Regions from separate parts of the Homo sapiens genome. Here all the other regions are linked to region 2. The links are contacts of gene promoters, found by promoter capture Hi-C in blood cells and fetal thymus (Javierre and others, 2016). All regions are on one chromosome and are shown on one strand. Each heading gives the region's core, a stretch centred on a gene start or on the middle of the fragment in contact. The rest is flanking DNA. Distances are from core to core; before and after follow the strand shown.

Region 1 (3,831 bases), core at 1,290-3,789, 1.8 Mb after region 2:
GTCACATCTGAGGCTTTAGTAGGAGTTATCTTTGCCCAGGGGAGCGAAGACGCAGGGAGGATGTTACAGATAGAAGGATGCCATGTGCAAAGCTGCAGAGGTCATGGCAGGGCCCGGATGTGCAAGCCCCTCCCTAAGAACTAACCCTAGGAGCTTATGATGCCGGGCAACAGACAAGACTTGAGGGAGAGAAAATCCGGATCAAAAAAGAGCTAGATGTTTTTCTAGAGAGTTTGACTATTCTGTATTCTGAAAGCAATGGAAGGCCATGGAAGCATTTTGAGCAGGGTGAGACGTGAACTAGTGTGGGTTTTAGAATCCCTCTGGCTGCTACCAGGTGGAAGTGGATTGAACGAGGTTGAAGGCAGCAAACGAGGAGGTTGCTGTGGTTCTTGTCTAGTTCCAGGCAGCCTTAGTGAGCAGAGGCAGGGCTGAATCGCAACCCTCTTAGCCAGGCACTTTGTGCAGTGAACAAGCATCTCTGCCTGGGACCCAGGGTAGGGAGGCAGGAGTGATGGAGAGAACTGGAAATACAAGATGTTTAGGAGGTGGAATCTTTTTTTTTTTTTTGAGACAGAGTCACTCTGTCACCCAGGCTGGAGTGCAGTGGTGCAACCTCAGCTCACTGCAACCTCCACCTCCCAAGTTCAAGCGATTCTCGTGCCTTAGCCTCCCGAGTAGCTGGGATTAGAGATGCACGCCATTGTGCCCGGTTAATTTTTGTATTTTTAGTAGAGATGGGATTTCACCATTGTTAGCTAGGCTGGTCTCCAACTCCTGACAAGTGGATCCGCCTGCCTTGGCCTCCCATAGTGCTAGGATTACAGGCGTGAGCCACCACGCCCGGCCAGGAAGTGGGGTCTATAGGTGTTGGTGATTGAGGACAGCAAAAGAGGCATGCAGGATGACACCAGGATCCTGGCTTAGCTAGGTGGATGATAGCTGAGATAGGAGCGCACAGGAAGACCAGCAATTTAAGGGGGAAGAAGATGAGTTTGTTTCTGGCTGTGCTGAATTTGGGCCGAGGGGACATATCCAGGAAGCTGTTGGATATCCATGTATGGGACTCAAGGGCGTGTTTGGACTGAAGCTGTAGATTGCCTTGGGAGTGGTTGTATAATCCAGAGTGAGTGCAGGGAGATGAGAAGGTCTAAGCCTGGGACCTGGGAAACCCCAACAGTTAAGAGACACCAACAAAGGATGTGAAGGATGCACCTCGGATGCTAGGAGCTGCTGACAGGAAAGCTGAAGAGACTCTGCATGGGCTTGTGTTATCTATTGCTGCATAAAAAATTATCCTGGGATGGCCAGGCATGGTGGCTCACACCTGTAATCCCAGCACTTTGGGAGGCTGAGGCAGGTGGATCACCTGAGGTCAGGAGTTCAAGACCAGCCTGACCAACATGGAGAAACCCTGTCTCTATTAAAAATCCAAAATTAGCCAGGCGTAGTGGCGCATGCCTGTAATCCCAACTACTCAGGAGGCTGAGGCAGGAGAATCACTTGAACACTGGAGGTGGAGGTTGCGGTGAGCCGAAATTGTGCCATTGCACTCCAGCCTGGGCAAAAAGAGCGAAACTCTATCTCAAAAAAAAAAAAATTATCCTGGGATTTAGCACCTTGAAGCAATTAGCACCCACTGTCTCGGTGTCTGTGGATCAGGGATCTGGACACGATGCCACTGGGTGCCTCTTCTTCAAGGTCTTTCAAGGCTGCAGGCAAGGTATTGGCCAGGGCTGCTGTCTCCTCTGAAGGCTCATCTTCAGGAGGATCCCCTTCCAAGCTTCTTCACATGATAGGATTCAGGTCCTCATAGGCTGTTGGACTGAAGACTTAGTTTCCCACTGGCTCTTGGGTGGGGGCCTCTCTACAGAGCAGCTTACAACCTGGCAGCTGGTTTCTTTCAGAGCAAGCGAACAAGAGAGAGAGGCCATACAAGACAGATGCCATGTCTTGGAAGTGATATTCCTTTACTTTTGCCATATTCTCTTAGCGAGAAGTGAGTCCTGAGGTCCGGCCCACACTGAAGGAGAGGAGATCCTAGCAGGGCTGGGGATTATCAGGAGCCCTCCCAAAGGCCACTGAAGAGAGCAGTCAAGATGGTGGATGGGGTCAGCTGGCTGCCCAGAGGTCATCTGATAAGGACTAGGAGCTGTTAGTGGCCCTGGCGATAGCAGATCTGGGCTGGCCGGTGTGTCTGGAGTCAGACACTACATTGAAGTGTGTTGACAGGTAGGATGCAGGGAAGTGAGAAGGGTGAATGTGAGTTACTAGTTGGAGGCTGGAGTGCTTTTATGTCACCCAAAGATGTATGGGTCAGAGAGGCATTCCCAGGTGTGGAATGGACTGTGAGAGCTGGGACAGGCACTGGAGTGGGATATGGCTTTTTCTCAGATGAGAGGTTCTTGGACATGTTTAAACACTGGTTGGGGGCAGGGTAGGAGAGACAGAAAGGTGGGTGGGGTGAGTAGGCAGCCTCTATTATGGCCCTGATGGCCCTTGCCTTCTGGTATTCACACCCTTGTGTGATCTCCTCCCAACAGCATAGGACAGATGTGGTTGGATGTTACTTTGGAGATTCAGTTACAAAAAGACTGCAGCTTTGCTCACTCTGAGAGAAGGCAGCATCCATGTCTTGAGGACACTCAGGCAGCCTGGGACAGGCTTGGGGAGTGAGGAGCTGGGACCCCAGCCAACAGTCATGCTGGACTTGCTCCAGGACACATCACCTTGGGGTTTGCTCTTCCCAGGTCAGTAGGCATCCAGCGCTGGGGCAGCTGCTTCAGGACATCGCCGAGGACAAGTCTCCTCCCCATTCTGGTTCCACCATCTGTAGCCTGTGGCTTTCATCCTCAAGGGCTCCATGCGACCGCTGCACATCCAGGTACTACATCTGACCCATGTATTGAGCCAGCTCAGCTGTGATCAAGCGCAGCCTTTTTCCTCCGTAAGAACTGCCCATTGGCGTAGTTGTGAACTGAGGCAGAGGAGCTGCTGTGGCAGTGGTAGGTGATGTGGATGTACAACGGATTGCTTACAGTCTCAGTGGATTGCTGCTAGGCCCACCCACCTGAATTTACATATTAGAGGGCCTGACAGAACCCAGTTCATGAGGGGCAGCTCTGGCCTCATGGTCACTTGATGTCCCCTAGTCATCTCTACCAGGGTCCAGTAGCCTGGCAGAGCTGCTTTGTGAATGGTGTCTAGTTCTCTACTATAGATGACCTGGTCTTGCTCCAGAACCCTAGGGGGTCTACTTTGTGGTTTTTCCCACCAGAGCTTGCTGTAAGCTTCACACAGCATATCTTCCCACCATGTATGCCTCTAGTATCATGGGGTCTGTGGGTCCCATAGCCTGAGGGACAGCCTTTGATGTCATGTGACCCAGAGATATGTGGGTCAGAGCAGCACTCCCAGGTGTGGAATCTGCTACCTCCAGAACCCAAAGAGGCCTCTAAGCATTGTGCTTGCTCTTCTGTGATGGAGTGTGCAGGGGGATGTTCTGGTGTGCCCCACACCACCAGACCCCTACAAACCTCACTGATGTGGCAAGCCCCTAATTCTTCATAGGGTTTAATCTTCTGCCCGCTGGAGCACATATGTCTCATCAAGTTTTCCATGTACTTGTCACCTCCTGCTCATCCATCCTGATTAGCACATTGTCATTGACACCATGAACCAGTGCAGTGTTCTGCAAGACGTTCAGATGGCCCAGTCTCCTTCAGACTGTGATGACAAAGGATGGGAAAGGTATCATTGGCCTGGGGCAAGACCATATGTGTGTATTGTTGGCCGTTCCTATGAGTGCAAATGGTCCCTGATAGGGATGAA
Region 2 (4,226 bases), core at 1,457-3,956:
ATGGCTGATTTGGATGTGGAGGACTAATCTTTGACATCTAGGATTTTTTTAGTTCTACTGTCTTTTTTTTTTTTGTTTAGTTTTTTGTTTTGTTTTCATTCTGGGCTATCAGCTGGTATATCTAGCAGCCATCAGGATTGATGGTCTATAGAACCCCTACATCCCTTATCCTAATAGGTTGTCTCAAATCTGTAATGGGCCAAAAACCAGAAAACCAATCTTTATTCATCATTCATTCACGTATGAATACATCTACCCACAGTATTTCGTTTTATATATATCTAGTATTTTATTACTATCCATAGTAACAACAACCACTGACCTGTCTCTAGAATAATTTGGAAACGAGTAAGACATAGCCATTGCCTTTAACGGGTTTATTAGACTTCTGAATTAAACAGATTTAAAAAATTAACTCTTATGCTCAACAGACTCTGGAAGTACCACAAGAGAGAAATGAACAAAATTCTGTGCCAGGGGTTGAAAACAGAGCAAATCAGGCTGCATTCGGCCAGCAAATGTTTTATTTGGCCCACACGGTGTTTTGTTTTTTTTTCAGAGTGGATGCTAACATTTAAAAATTAGGCCATTTCACATAAAAACCCAGATTCCTAGCTTCTGGTAAAAACAGGAAGAGCTGAGCACACTAGGCCAAATTCCTGCATGGTGGTAATTGGCAGGAGCTGAGCAGCAGCTGCCCCTTTTAGGCCGAGCATGAGCTCTGCAGTTTGCCACACTCTATTACTCTGACATTGAAGCCAAATGTTCAGTTGCCAGCTATCATCAGCTTGTGCTATAGGTACGTTTATAATAAAGTTAAAAGTAAAATGATTTTTTAAAACTCAAATCTCTATTAAAAGTACAAATGAAAGATTCACTGATACGGCTGTGTTTCAAGAAAAATGGGGTACAGAATACAAGACTATTCCTAGGGAAAACATACAATTCCTAGTGTTGAAGATGCAAATAAACATCTCCCATTTATGTTACCTGCCTGTCTCCTGCAGACATTTGAGTTTGCCACGTCTGTAACATAAGGAAAAATTAATGTAGTGGCTGAGAGCGTTGACGTTGGAGTGAGGAAGACCTGAGCTTGAAAGCTGGTTCCACCCCTCACTGTGTGACGCTGGCAAATTATCCACCCTCTCTGGGCTTCAGTTTCCTCATACATAAAATAGAGGAAATTATAGTACCTACCTTAGAGAGTGGTGAAGACACAACGAGATAAAGGATATGAAGTGCTTAGCCAGCACCTGGCACATAGTGTCAGCTACCACTAGTGCCGAACACAAAAGAGAGGACCCGTCTCCAACGTGAGCCTTGAAGGATGTTCAGGATTTCCGTGTGAGATGAGGAGAGACGGCATGCTTTACACAGAGAAAGATCTCAGAAGGGACAGAACCAAAGACAAGTAACCTGCTCCAGTGGCCAGAACAGAGGCTTCACAACAATGCTGAATGATTTTCAAAGTCAGGCCAAGACCTATCCCATAAGTAAGAATATGACAAAACAGACTGCTATGTTATAGATTTAGGCGATAACAATGGAATAGGACATTAAATAACTGAATCAAAAGGTGACAAAGTCATTCCCCTTCAGTTCTTTTTCAGACTTCCCAATTAGGAGAGCTTGTGTTTGGTGCTCATTTTGAGCACCTTTCTGATCATACCTGCCCATCTCCAGTTTTAGAGAAACGAGATCTCAGGTTTAAAGGCTCCCTAGCAACAATAGCTAGCTACAGCTTGTTCAGTTTTGTTTCTCCCTACTTTAAGTTTTACTTTTACACTTAGAGCAAGCGACGCTGATTTTATCTTAACATTTAGAGCAAGTGACACTGGTTTTCATAAATGGAGTAATAAAGTTTCCTTGTAAAATGTGAAATCATAATTAAAATAAATGAGACAATTTAGAGAAAAACGTCAAGAAAACAAGAGTATGGGTACTATGTGGATGTGGCAAGAACTGTGAAGCTTGAGCAGCTTCGTGCTGTCTCGTGGGTGTGAGATGAATCCAAGGCAGCGACAGGGCCAGACCGTGAGGGAAGAGCCGCCTCCACCCGCCACCACCTCAGGCGCGGCACCTCCCTTTGCCGCTCTCCAACCCTCGGGAGTTTCTCCAACCGCCAAGGGGCGGGAGGGCGACCCTGCAGTCTCCCAGGCCGGGGTTCAGTGCCCTCGGCCCAGGCAGCAAGCCCGCTGCCCCCCTCAAACACGCTGCAGCGGCTCGCGCACTCCCCGCGAGGACTCGACCTCCTGCTCTTCGCGAACCGCCCCGCTCCTCACCAGTGCTCGGCTTTATCTCTCCACGTCAACACGGCCCTCATCACGGCTTCCCTTACGGCTCGGGCTCCTCCTACCCGCCTCAGCGTCTGTCTCAGCAACCGCCTCACTAACGGTCGCCACTCCACAAGCCACTTTGGCTACCTGCGTTACCCCTGGCAACGTACATGCGCGGTAAGCTGAGTGCGAGGGCGCCTTGCTCCGAGCGCGCATGTCCGAAAGGGAAAGCCAGAAAAGCAGCAAAAGCAATGGTGGCACTGGAGCCCCTAAGGCGCCAGCGCAACCAGAGCGCGAGCGATTGGTCGGGGCGTGTGGGGGCGGTGCGTCTTCCTCGAGAATGGATTTGATTGGTGGAGCGTGGAAATGGCGGCTGTAGCCGAGGGGGCGGCCGGAAAGCAGCGGCGGCGTCTGGGGCGCTTTCGCAACATTCAGACCTCGGTTGCAGCCCGGTGCCGTGAGCTGAAGAGGTTTCACATCTTACTCCGCCCCACACCCTGGGCGTTGCGGCGCTGGGCTCGTTGCTGCAGCCGGACCCTGCTCGATGGGCACGACTGGGCTGGAGAGTCTGAGTCTGGGGGACCGCGGAGCTGCCCCCACCGTCACCTCTAGTGAGCGCCTAGTCCCAGACCCGCCGAATGACCTCCGGTAAGTTACTGTCCCCTTTTGGGCCTCAGTTTCACCACCTGTAAAATGGTATCGGGAGAGTGGACAGTGTGTGGGCCTTTCTAACCTTTGACAGAGGGTCGGCAGAAACCTCGAAGCCCACGGGTTTAGTTACTAGGGTCTGGAGCCCAGGTGCTCTTCCTGTGCGATCAGCCCTGGGGTGCGCTCGACTTCCTCATCTAAGATGACTAGGGAGACTGGGGGGGAGCCGGGAGGTTTTGTGAAAGAGGTCCCCTTGGGGTTGGAGGATCCTAGGAAGTCATTAGACTACGTGTGTGATAGGAGGTTAAGATTTACCTACTTTTTTCAAAATTTAATACTAAGAACTACTTTGAAAGAGGCATCACCTTCTTTTTACAGAGTCTTTTACCGAGACTTTGAGATGTTAAGTAACTTGCTGCTAAACTTACAGCTGGTAGAGCTGGAATTTGAGCCCCAGTCTCTTAAGAGTTTGTGCTGATTCCACCAGGCTTCAGTATTTTTATCTCTAAAATTGTAAACAATATCATTTCATAAGATCCATCCAGCTCCTCAAAATTATTTTACCCCAAATTACATCAGAAAACCTTGATTCTAATTCTAGTTCTTGCAGTTTCCCTATTTGTAGAAAAGAACTTGGGTTAAATGATCTCTCTAGACCCATCCACCTTTTACAATCTGTGGTTTAGTGATTAGGATACACTTTACTGAAATTTTTTTTTTAATTTTAAAAGTATGTTTTCATCATAGAAGACACATTGGAACTTTAATGAAGTTTTAGTTTAGTGGGTTTTTTTTTGAGATGAGGTCTCGCTCTGTCACCCAGGCTGGAGTGCAGTGGCACAATCATAGCTCCCTGAAGCCTTGACCTGCCGGACTTAAGCAGTCCTCCTACCCCGGCCTCCTTAGTAGCTGGGACCACAGGTATGCTCCACCACGCCCGGTTGCTTGTTTTTTTTTGTTTTTTTGGGTTTTTTTTTTCATTTTTTGCAAAGACGAGGATCTCACTGTGCTCTCCAGGCTGGTCTCAAACTCTTGGGATCAGGTGATCTTCCCACTTCCTCCTCCCAAAGTGCTAGCATTACAGGAATGAGCCACCTTGCCTTGCCAGCTTTTTTCAATAACAGTATGGGGGAGAAGTATTAGACCAAGATTTGGTAGACTTGGGTTCTCGTGTCTGTTCTGCAAGTAATTTAACCTGTCACTCAATTTTATCAATAAATTGAGAGTAAACCTTATTGTACCTACAAGGTTACCATGAGGATCAAGAATGAAGAAGATTCAAAAATTCTGTATCAAATTATT
Region 3 (3,847 bases), core at 42-2,541, 1.3 Mb after region 2:
ACATTTTCCCTTCAGAGCTGGGAGAGGATTTGGCTTTGCAGGGAAGATAAGGGCCTTTCAGGCAGAGGACACCGTGTGGCTTCTTGGGATTCGTGAGGGGACTGGCCAGATACTTGAAACTCACCAGAGTTCCCAATTTGAGCTTGCTTATTCTTCAAAAGGGCCGCTTGATGTGGGCAAGTAGGAGCTTGGGGTTGTGTGTGAAAAGAAATGGGCTTTAAATTCCAGCTCTAGTATTGACTTGCTATGAGACCTGAGGCAGGTCCCTTAACTTTTCTAAGCAAAAGCATACTCTACCTATTTCAAGCAATTATTAAACTGATCGATTGTAAGATAATGACTTGCATTATAATTTTGAAATGATTACTGATTGTGTATCTTATATTGGTATCTTACAAGAGGAAGAAGTGCTATATTTGTGAACAGTTTTTTCTCTTCCTATATAAAAGCAAATTGTGAACAGTTTTTTAAACTGTAAAGTGCCATACAGATGTGAGCTTCAGTTACCTCTCTCCAGGCAACATTAGCTTGTCCAGTGCATTTACCATTTATTTGCTTGCTATTCCTTATATCTTAGACCTTCTCTTTCCCTCCATTTTTCTTCTTCCTAAAGTAAATAATTTAGAAATTTCTTCTAGAAGTTTGTTGGTGGGAAAGTCTCTCACGTTTGCATTCATTATGTTGCCCTTGTTTTGAAAAAGAGCTATGTTGGCTATATAATTCAGTTGACAGATATTTTCTTCAGTACTGTTTCACAGTACTTCTCTCTCAATGTTATTTGCTCCTTTGGCTTCTGTTGTTTTTGAGAAGTCTAATTTTGAGGGTTTTGAGTCTTCTTTCTGCATGTTTTTGAGATATTTTTGGGTTTGGTGTTTCACTATTATATGTCAGAGTGGATTAATTTTTGTTTATCATGCTTAATGCTAATTGTGCTTCTTGAATCTGAGTATTATGTCTCTGCTCAATTCTGGAAAATTGTCAGCCTTAGGAGAATCGCTTGAACCTGGGAGGCAGAGGTATCAGTGAGCCAAGATCATGCCATTGCACTCTAGCCTGGGTGACAGAGCAAGACTACGTCTCAAAAAAAAAAAAAACAAAAAAACTGTCAGCGTTAATCTCTTCAGCTATTGCCTTTCCCCATTCTCTTTGTTCTTTCCTTCTGGAACTCCACTGAGATGAGGTTAAGATTGCAGTGGTTTTCAACCTGGGGCAGTTTTGCCCTTGCAGGGGACTTTGACAACGTCTGGAGACATTTTTGGTTCTCACGACTTGGTTGGGGGTGCTACTGGCATCTAGTGGGTGGAGGCCAGGGATGCTACTAAACATCCTGTAGTGCACAGAGCAGTTTCCATAATAAGGAATTATCTGGCCACAAACGTCATGGAGTCAAGCTGAGAAACCCTGGGCTAGAGCTTCTCGTTTTGTCCTCTTTGTCTTTTAGCCTCTCATATTTGTTATCTTTTTGACTCTGCTAAATTATGGGTAATTTCTTTTAGATCTTTGTTCCAGTCTAATTGTCTCTTAAGCTATGATTAAGTGACTGATTAATCCAATCTATTGAATATTTTTTTCCTTTTCATTTTGAAAAGTTTGGAACCTACAAAAAACTTGAAAGAATAGTGTGATGAGCCCCTCTATACCCTATACCTAGATAGCCAGTTATAAATATTTTGTGACATTTGCTTTTTCTCTAGTTTATTTCTGAACCACTTGACAGTAAGTTGTAAGGATGTCTTCCTACATGACCACGGTGCCATCATCAGACCCACCTTGCTAATGCTATTATATTCCCCCAATTTTTGTCAATTAAAAATTAAATTAATTAATTTTTAAAAAATGAGCAGCAGAGCCAGGGAGAGAATGGTGTCTCAGGAACCAAGAAAGGAGAACCTTTAAAGAAAGGAGTAGGTAACCATATCCACTGTGGTAGAGAAATCACAAAGATGAGGGAGCCTGGCAGCTCATCATATGATTCCATGAGCAGTTAACAAATGTGCTTTCAAAGACAACGAAGTTAAATTGTTTTAATGAAAAGAAAATATAGGTGATAGAAATCAGAAAACATCTTTCCAAGTTGTTTCAGTTTTTGGCTTTTTAAAAAACACCAGAATATCAAAATGCAATCAAAGATTACACACTGCATAAATTGTTACAAGTTATAATGTCTTTTTTTTTTTTTTTTGAGATGAAGTCTCGCTCTCTTGCCCAGGGTGGAGTACAGTGGCGTGATCTTGGCTCACTGCAATCTCTGCCTCCCAGGTTCAAACGATTCTCCTGCCTCAGCCTCCTGGGTAGCTGGGATTACAGGTGCCTGGCTAATTTTTGTATTTTTAGTGGAGATGGGGTTTCATCATGTTGGTCAGGCTGGTCTCGAACTCCTGACTTTAGGTGATCCACCTGCCTTGGCTTCCCAAAGTGCTGGGATTACAGGCGTGAGCCACTGTGCCTGGCCCCCAGATGTATTTTGTTATGGCCCACCTTTTTTACTCATGTGTGGCCCTTCAAGAGTCCTCTTTTATGTTTTTTTTTTAATTGTAATGTTTTTGTTTGTTTGTTTGTTTTTTGAGACAGTTTCAGTCTGTCGCCCAGGCTGGAGTGCAGTGGTCTGTTACCCAGGCTGGAGTGCAGTGATCTCGGCTCACTGCAGTCTCTACCTCTTGGGTTCAGGTGGTCCTCCCACCTCAGCCTCCTGAGTAGCTGGGACTACAGGTGCACACCACCACGCTTTGGCTAATTTTTGTAGTTTTCGTAGAGATGGGGTATCGCCATTTTGCCCAGGCTGGTCTTGAACTCCTGGGCTCAAGCAATCCACCTGCCTCGGCCTCCCAAAGTGCTGGGATTGCAGGCTTGAGCCACCGTGCCCAGTCCCGGTTTTATTCAGGGGTTTCTATCTTAAGTGCTATACCTTGCTGAGCTTTCCTGTATCTACAGTCTCTGAACTTTCAAGGCAAATAGTTTACTGCTCTGAATGTTATTATTTATTCAATTCTAGGTGTTTTGTAAGAGGAGAGGTTTTCAGTGGACCCAGTGTGCCATATTGCTAGAAGCATATGTCTTTCATTTTTTTTGGTGATATTGTATTGCTTTCCTCCCAGGAAATATGAGAAGTGCTCAGCACTGTGGTATTACCTTATAAGTTTGTCCACTCCCTTCCAATGTGTATGAAGGAATTTGGTGACTTCTGCTTAATGGTTTGCTGCAGGGTCCCAAAGTTTAGGCAACTTACCTGGGTGACAGGCAGAAATACTGCTTATTTTAGAGATGCAAATGCATGGTTCATATGCATTTCCACTCTTGAGGACCTCACACTGTTAATAATGGGTTTGGGTTTTAGAAGAAGGAGATATTCAGATGAGATTGAAAAATAGAGATTTCTTCAACCTTCTTTTGGCAACAACCTCTTTTTTGTGCCACTTGTCACTCACATGGGGTGAGTACAAAAAAAAATGGCTTTGGAGATTGGGGTTTGCATCCTGGTGCTGCTGCTTGCGGTTTTACCTTGGGTGTGTTGGTAACTTTTGAGTTTGTTTCTTAATCTATAAAATACAAACTAGATGATCAAGGTCATAGGCTAGTTGGGGAGATTCGATGAGGTCTATGCAGCACTCTGTAGTAGGTGTAGGAATAGTAGCCATATCATATACTTTCCCTCTGGAAGTCTTTAAATGGAGGAAACGAGACACACATGAAGCTTTTTTTTTTTAACCAAGTATTTATCATATTTTAATGGAAGTATGTTCATCTCTTCTGTATTAGTTAAAGGGAGGGAGAGTGCCATTGAATTGGATGTGGTCACTGTCTTTGAAGTTCAAAACTGAGGGTAGGGAATTGGGGCTGGCAGAGATAC

Evidence for each region. The method cuts DNA at HindIII sites, captures the fragments that hold promoters and counts their contacts. A CHiCAGO score of 5 or more calls a contact.
Region 1: a fragment that was not itself captured here is called in contact with the fragment with the promoter of MBD4 in region 2 in 1 of 17 cell types (activated CD4 T cells); the score reaches 6.1 in activated CD4 T cells.
Region 3: a fragment that was not itself captured here is called in contact with the fragment with the promoter of MBD4 in region 2 in 1 of 17 cell types (activated CD4 T cells); the score reaches 8.1 in activated CD4 T cells.

What each region holds. Positions count from the first base shown.
Region 1 is chr3:127,593,853-127,597,683 of GRCh38, reverse strand. It overlaps a transcript of TPRA1 not described here. Among named protein-coding and RNA genes, the nearest start is that of MCM2, 2.6 kb to the left of the region's middle. The HindIII fragment of the contact is 1,507 bases long and covers 1,786-3,292 here.
Region 2 is chr3:129,438,428-129,442,653 of GRCh38, reverse strand. It overlaps MBD4 (methyl-CpG binding domain 4, DNA glycosylase), which reads left to right and starts at 2,706. Exons shown (of 8, transcript NM_001276270.2): 1 at 2,706-2,924. The coding sequence starts at 2,821. IFT122 (intraflagellar transport 122) reads right to left here and starts at 2,430. Exons shown (of 30, transcript NM_052989.3): 1 at 2,283-2,430. The coding sequence starts at 2,323. RefSeq lists enhancers at 1,427-1,476, 1,877-1,926, 1,957-2,006, 2,157-2,366, 2,567-2,706 and 1 more. The HindIII fragment of the contact is 2,558 bases long and covers 1,973-4,226 here.
Region 3 is chr3:128,114,864-128,118,710 of GRCh38, reverse strand. The region is part of intron 2 of RUVBL1 (RuvB like AAA ATPase 1); the gene reads left to right. Among named protein-coding and RNA genes, the nearest start is that of RUVBL1, 7.0 kb to the left of the region's middle. The HindIII fragment of the contact is 4,805 bases long and covers 1-3,693 here.